2 separate regions of the Homo sapiens genome follow, and region 1 is linked to region 2. Evidence: promoter capture Hi-C in human tissues and cell types (Jung and others, 2019). All regions are on one chromosome and are shown on one strand. The core of a region is centred on a gene start or on the middle of the fragment in contact, and the rest is flanking DNA. Distances in the headings are between cores, read along the strand shown.

Region 1 (3,599 bases), core at 1,079-3,578, 1.6 Mb after region 2:
CCTTGAGGGTGGAGGTGGGGGCTTTCCTCGGCTCGGGGGTTCTGACCCATGCATTCGGTATGGTGGTGGGGGAGGGGGAGCATCCCTGGCACCATTTCGGATCACAGGTGGTGGGGGTGGAGGAGCTGCAATTAAAATCCAAAGTAGTTAGGTTTGGATGTGGAGACGGCAAGGGGTAGAATGACTTGAAACACATGAGCTAAAAGAGTAACACACCCCACAGAGGCTCACAGTGCCTGGTTCCCCTTTGTCCTTATTACTTGAACAGCATCACCATTCTTCCAGATACCAACATTCAGAATAAATGTATGGCCTTTTTACATTTCCTACCAGTCAGTCAGAACCCTATCTGTTCTTGATTTTTTTCCTGCTTTTCCATGCCTTCCTCCACAATTCTAATTCAGGTCTTCCTTATATTTAGCCTGTTCTCTACTGCAAAAGCCTTCCGAATGTTCTCCTTGCTTTGTCTCTTACCCCTCCAAATTCATTTTGCATAACACCAACTCACCAACCTCCCTAAAAACTTGATCCAGTTTTTTCAAAGGCTTTGCACTGCCTAAATCATAAAGTCTCAAACTGTGGCTGGGTGTGATGGCTCACGTCTATAATCCTAGCACTTTGGGAGGCCGAGGCGGGAGGATTGCCTGAGCTCAGCAGTTGGAGACCAGCCTGGGCAACATGATGAAACTCCATCTCTACTAAAAATACAAAAAATTAGCCCGGTGTGGTGGCGTGTGCCTGTAGTCCCAGCTCCTCAGGAGGCTGAGGCACAAGAATCACTTGAACCTGGGAGGTGGAGGTTGCAGTGAGCCCAGATTGTGCCACTGCACTCCAGCCTGGGCAACAGAGAGAGACTCCATCTCAAATACATAAATAAGTAAAAAAATAAAGTCTCAAAGCCTTTGCTTACATAGTAACCTACCACACCAATCAGCTTGAGCTTGGCTTCTCCTCTTCCCTTCTTATTGCTAGGCTAGGTTAGGAGCCCTCCTCTGCACTTCCACTGCAGCTTGTGCATACCTACCACTTGAATAGACTATTATAATTATTTATTCTGTGTGCTCTTTCCCCAGTATACTGTGTACCCCTTGATGTCAGAGCAGTTCCTCCTTCTGGGTTCCCAAGTTCAGCCAAATGTACAGCACACAGCAGGTGCTCAATCAATGTTTGCTGAATAAACCAAATTATATGCTTTGCTCTTGTGACTCCCCTCACAATATTCTGATATCCCCCCTTCCCTTACTACCAAATCCTCCCTACCCTTCAAGGTTCAATCCAAGTCCCATCTTCTCAAGGCTTTCCCAAAGCAATCCATTTTCTTCTGAGTCCCTCCACCTCTGCTCTCCCACAGCATATACAGGCTATGTCACTTACTCTAATATCAATGAGCGATTTTCAAAATATATACAGCAGATTCATTGTGGGAAGTTACATATGTCCAGTAACAGTCTCATTGCTCAAACACTGCAAACACCTCTTTTGGAATTGCCTCCAAAGCAAGTTTATCAGTCAGAGCTGTAAACACTATTATATGATGGTCACATTTCATTTCTGAGGTCGCCCCACCACCATCACCAATGAAAATATTCATACCTATGCCAGGCACGGTGGCTCACGCCTGTAATCCCAGCACTTTGGGAGGCCGAGGCGGGAGGATCACCTGAGGTCGGGAGTTCGAGACCAGCCTGATCAACATGGAGAAACCCAGTCTCTATTAAAATACAAAAATTAGCCAGATGTGGTGGTGCATGCCTGTAATCCCAGCTACTCGGAAGGCTGAGGCAGGAGAATTGCTTGAACCCAAGAGGCGGAGGTTGCGGTGATCCAAGATCGTGCCATTGCACTCCAGCCTGGGCAACAAGAACAAAACTCTGCCTCAAAAAAAAAAAAAAGAAAATGTTCATACCTATGTCTGAATCTGCTTTTTGGTGATTCCAAAAATCAAATTCACTCTTAAAAGATGAAAATTTGCCACCAAGTAGAAGGTAACGTCAAAAGCATGTGTCAAGAAATGGCAATATGACTGGAATATAATAGATTCTAACGTGTTTGTCTTACTCCTATGCTCTGTATTAACTAACAATAATAGCAGCTACCATTTATTGGGTATCTATTATGTTCCAGGCATTTTCGGTGTATTAAATCTTTAAAAAGTCTTATAGCCACACATGCGAAGTATGTAATATTATCCCCATTTCACAAATGAGAAAACTGGGACTCAGGTTATTTGTTTAAGGTCACAGATCAAATAAAAATAGGCAAGGCACATGTCTGCTCTTTCTACTCTCCCACACTGCTTTTCGTAACTCCCAGTATTCTGCATAGTATCTTCCCAACCAGATTTACAATCCAGTGGCTTGGAAGTGCATCTTTTGGTATCTAGGCCATGTTCAATTTTTTTTTTTTTTTAAGAGACAGGGTCTCACTCTGTCACCCAGGTTAAAGCGCAGTGGTGGAATCATAGCTCAGTGCAGCTTCAAACTCCTGGGCTCAAGCAATGCTCCCGCCTCAGCAAAGGGCTGGGATTATAGGCATGTGCCACAGCACGTGGCCCAATAAATAGTTGTGACCTAAATAGTATGTGAAGAGACTACTCAGCTTAACAGACAAAACTGTTTTTAGTAGTAAAACGGTATCTTGGCTAGGCATAGTGGCTCACATCTGTAATCCCAACACTCTGGGAGGCTGAGGCAGGCAGATTGCTTGATGCCAGGAGTTCGAGATCAGCCTGGGCAACATGATGAAACCTCACCTCAAATTTTAAAAAAGTACAAAAATTAGCCAAGCGTGGTGGCACACGCCTGCAATCCCAGATATTCTGGAGCCTGAGGTGGGAGGAGCTTGAACCTGGGAGATGGAGGCTGCAATAAGCCAACATCGCGCCACTGCACTCCAGCCTGGTGACACAGCAAGACTGTCTCAAAGAAAAGAGTATCTTATTATTCCTCCTGATTACTATCAGAATTGCTGTAGTGACTATAGTTAAGCATGTAACACAGTAATAGAATAACATACACACACACACACACACAATCTGGCACAATAAGCCCAATAAATGTTTTTGCTTCCCGTAAGACACACTCAGAATGTCAACTCTTCCTCACTGTTTCCAAGCTTTGTTCAGTAGAAACAGGGGACACTAGATGCAATAATTAAAGAGAAATCTTGTAACTCCCAGCAGATCTCTGAGCCTTGTTTTGATTCCAAATCTACTCAAACTAAAGCTCTTTAAGAATAGAAGCTTCTTTAAGCCCTCAAAAATATTCCCTAAAACCCAGATTCCTCAAGGCCCTGAGAATTTGTATCTACTCCTAGGCCAGGGCAGCAAGGTAAACAGGGTTAGCCAGGTTCACAAGGACACCGACACCAGCTAGACACCAGGCAGGTGACAGCGATGAGACGACCTGGAATGGCAAAATAGAGCAGGGTAAGAGTGATCTGTTTGGCTTCTCCAGCTCCCTCCCTCATCCCAGCCAGGTTCTGCTGTCTCCAATAAGCTTCTGGGCTCTTTGTCAGATCCAGTTATTTTTCTTTTTTTTTTTTTTTTTTGAGACGGAGTCTCGCTCTGTCCCCCAGGCTTGAGTACAGTGGCACGATCT
Region 2 (4,129 bases), core at 675-3,174:
GGCCAGGCTGGTCTGGAACGCTTGACCTCGAACTCAGGTGATCTACCCACCTAGGCCTCCCAAATTGCTGGGATTACAGGCATGTGAATCACCACGCCCGGTCTTTTTATTTTTTGTAGAGATTTGATGGTGGTGGTGGGGGCTCTTACCATGTTACCCAGGCTGTACTTGAACTTCTGGGCTCTAGCAATCTGCCTGACTTGGCCTTCCAAAATTCTGGGATTACAGGCATGAGACAGCATGCCTTGCCTGGAGTGTATCTTTTTTTTTTTTTTTTTTTTTTTGAGATAGAATCCTTCTCTGTCACCCAGGTTGGAGTGCAGTGGTGCAATCTCACCTCACTGCAACCTCCACCTCCCGGGTTTAAGCGATTCTCATGCCTCAACCTCAAGAGTAGCTGGGATTTATAGGCGTGTGCCACCATGCCTGGCTAATTTTTGTATTTTTTGTAGAGATGGGGTTTTGCCTTGTTGGTCTTGAACTCCTGACCTCAAGTGATCCCCCACCTTGGCCTTCCAAAGTGCTGGGATTACAGGTGTGAGCCACCAAGACTGGCCACCCCCATTTTAGGACAAGAGAAGAGAGGTGATAAGGAACTGCTATTTCAAAAAGATGAATGGGAGGGAAGGGACCAGAAAGTGACATCATCAGGGAACACTTGATTCAGGCATGGGTAGCAAGTTCAGTTACCTTACTCCTGGCAGCAACAGGATTGGGGGAGGGGGTCTTGGAGAAGATTTTGTCTGCAAATGTCGCAACACTGTTGCAGTGTGAGTATGACCCAAAGTGCTTGGCAGGGGGACAGGCCTGCTGCTTCCCTGCATTCTGGGCTGACCTCTTCACCTGAGTCGGTCAGTGGACGCTTTTGGCCTCCTTCCTGGAGCTAGACAGCTGTTAGGCTTAGGGAGCAGCTCCGGACCTACAGGGTTGGGGTGCAGGTAGGGAGGGAGGCTGCAGCATGTCAGAGTGGTAAATACATGTCCTGATTTCCAGGACTGATTTCACATATTCTGCCCCACAAGTTCACCAGCACCTGTCAGATTGGATGTCCCAGTTTTTGGTTTGGAAAATTCGATCTGTCTCAGGTAATGGAGAAGGGGGAGACAGCAGTTCATTCATTCCAGTGTCTAAGCCTGTGGTTGGTGGGAACAAGAGACTGTCTGGGATGGCTCCAGCCCTTCGCTGGAATCTCGCATTGAATTCCTAGCTCCGCCCTGATCCGTGCTGAGGCGAGCAGGTGAGTGGGACGGACAGCGCTGTGCCTGCACCCTCCTAGCCCCACTTGCTTACCGCGGCCCCTGCCTTATCCCACACTGGGAAGTATGCTCTGTTAGCCTCGGCTCAGCCTTGCCTCATCGGCCCAGTGGGGAGAGTCCAGGGAGGAGAGAGGCTCCACGTGCTAAAGGAAAGCGGCCTGCCAGACACTGCTGCTTAAGGAGACTGTCTAAGCAATCGGATTCGGTGCGGCCGAGATGCAGACGTCCGTTTCTCCCAAGGGAAGGAGCAAGGGTACTCCAGGTCCCAAAGCTGCGTTACAGCCAGTTGGGCTAATCCTACCCGCCCCTCCCCCAACTCCCCGAGTGGCAATCTGTCCAGCCCCTCAAGCGATCAGGCCACAACCCCCAGCACCGCGCGTTCTCCTCCCAGCCTAGCCCGGCCCATCTCCCCACCCGGGGCCCCGCCCCGGCCCCGCAGGCTCCCAAGAGGCGGTGGATGGGCCAGCGGGACTACAAGTCCCAGCAGGCCCCGGGGCCCGCCCTCGTGGGGCGGAGCCAAGCCAGCAGCGAATTGGGAGGAGCCCTGGCGCTCAGGCTAGGGAACGCGTGTGGCCAATCGCGGGGCCGTTCTCGCCGCGAGCCGATGGGGGCGGGGAAAAGTCCGGCTGGGCCGGGACAAAAGCCGGATCCCGGGAAGCTACCGGCTGCTGGGGTGCTCCGGATTTTGCGGGGTTCGTCGGGCCTGTGGAAGAAGCGCCGCGCACGGACTTCGGCAGAGGTGAGCACGGGAGGCTGTTTTCGCTGGCTGGAGCCCGCTCGCCCTAGGAGCTTCCTGCCTCCGTCCCCCAACCCGGAACCGCCTTCCCCGACGCGGGCTCGGTGCCCACGCGCCCTGCTCGGAAGTTTTGAGGGTCTTAGCTTTAGGTTAGCCTTCGCCCGGGGTCCCGGCCGGTGGCCGCGTGTCGACGCCCCTCCCCTCCCCCCGCGCGACACACACATATTCCAGTTCCTGGGAGTTTGCATGGGGCTTGCCGCCATCCTTGCCTCTTCTGCCTCTGCCACATTGCATGGTCCCCCTCCTGGCGCGCCTCACCCCTCCCGGGCACAGCTATCGAGGCTCCTCGGGCTCATCGGGACGCCTTTTGGCTCCATCCGGGTTCCCCCATCGGATGCCGGGACGGGAAGTAGAGAAAGCGGTGGCGACTGGTCCCACTCCGATTCCTCACTGGCCGGGCTCAGGCCCTTCTTGGTTCCGTGGGTACAAAATTGAGCTCCACGCCCAAGTGGAGAGAATGAGCTATGCGCGCCTCCGGGGCGGGCCACGCGGGGCCAGGCTGCCCCAGGGTGCCCGAGGCCTCGCCTCGTCTCGCCGCGAGGACTGGAATCTCGCAGCAAGGACCCTCCTCGCACTGGAGGTATCGTCGAGTCCAGCCCCTAAGTGACAGATGGCCGGGGTGCCACCCCACCCTTGAGCTGACGCCAAGTCTGGCCGGGGAAAGGTCCTCAAGGGGCTGGAGGATGCTGCCGCCGCCCTCCTGTCGAGCCTGGCAATGGGCCAGTCCCAGCGCCTGCCGCGGTCTCCAACCTTGGCAGATACCGTGCAGTGCCGAGTTCTGCCGTTATGGGGTCCCTGGAGGTCTTCCTGGGAAGAGGATTTTGGAAGAGACGATAAGGAAAAGTGCACAGCACAGTTTGGCCAGCTAGCCTACTCCTCTCCACCCTTAACTTTCCTCTGTGTTTTCAGCTGGCTCAGCTGAACTAAAATGTGGGGTGAGGGACAGCTGGTAGGTCTCATTTGCCCAGATGGGTGATTTTCACCTCTTAGAAACCTTCCTAAACAGCTTGGGGGGCGGTAGTGGGAAGACCCCTCAGACACTGGACAGCTTATGGCTCCATCCCCGTTCTGACACTATGCCTGCCGCAGTAAGGGGCACTCACAGAATTCTGCCTCTCTAGAATTTACTCCAGGGATTGCCTGTCTTCTCAAAAAATAAATAAATAAATACCTACATACGTAAGTCCCAATCCTGCAGATACTAACCTTCAAATGAGTGTTTTTGTCTTTCCCAGAGGCACCCTTAGTAGCATCCCCAGTGATTCCCTTCCCCTGGCTGTGTCCCAGGGGCGTGTTCTGGGGAACAGGCTTCTTTCATTCAGCCTCCTGTGTGGGCTGCTTCTCTCAGTGTCTGCTAAAAGTGAACTCAATCCTGGGTCACTCACCCGTCTGCAGAAAGACTCCATTCAGCTCATAAGGCCCCTCCCTTAGAGAATGTGTGTATGTGTGTGTTTTCAGGTTCCTTGGCATGATTTCCCCCAAATGGTTTACACATTTAGCTGTTACCAAGTAACAGTTCCTGGAGTCCAAGCTCAGCCCAATCATCTGTTACTTGTTTGACAGCACATTCAGCTACTGGGGAGGCAGACTAAGACGTTCTGGGGAGCGGTCCCAAACCCAGATAGGTATTTGTAGGTATTTGCTGATTCCACTAGAGCAAATATTCTTTTTTTTTTTTTTTTTTTTTTGAGACAGAGTCTTGCTCTGTCGGCAGGCTGGAGTGCAGTGGTGGATCTCGGTTCACTGCAACCTCCGCCTCCTGGGTTCTAGCGATTCTCCTGCCTCAGCCTCCCCAGTAGCTACAGGTGTGCACCACCACGCCCGGCTAATTTTTGTATTTTTAGTAGAAACAGGGTTTCACCATATTGGCCAGGCTGGTCTCAAACTCCTGACCTCGTGATTTGCCCTCCTTGGCCTCCCGAAGTGCTGGGATTACAGGCGCAAGCCACCGTGCCTGGCCGCAAATGTTCTTAACTGGTGGTCAGTCTGTGGGCCATCGGATCATTGTCACAGGTGAGCACCTTGAAACAATATGCACAATTGGATTTGTGTACCTTTTTCTGGGGTTTTTTTCAGT

What was found. Contacts are between HindIII fragments. The study calls those that stand out against the background at their distance.
Region 1: a contact is called between a fragment that was not itself captured here and the fragment with the promoter of ACLY in region 2, in 1 of the 25 tissues and cell types used here (spleen).

Annotation. Positions count from the first base shown.
Region 1 is chr17:40,270,316-40,273,914 of GRCh38, reverse strand. It overlaps WIPF2 (WAS/WASL interacting protein family member 2), which reads right to left. Exons shown (of 8, transcript NM_133264.5): 6 at 1-125. Among named protein-coding and RNA genes, the nearest start is that of CDC6, 16 kb to the left of the region's middle. The HindIII fragment of the contact is 6,236 bases long and covers 1-3,599 here.
Region 2 is chr17:41,916,746-41,920,874 of GRCh38, reverse strand. It overlaps ACLY (ATP citrate lyase), which reads left to right and starts at 1,924. Exons shown (of 29, transcript NM_001096.3): 1 at 1,924-1,995. RefSeq lists silencers at 1,542-1,801, 2,282-2,521. The HindIII fragment of the contact is 39,518 bases long and covers 1-4,129 here.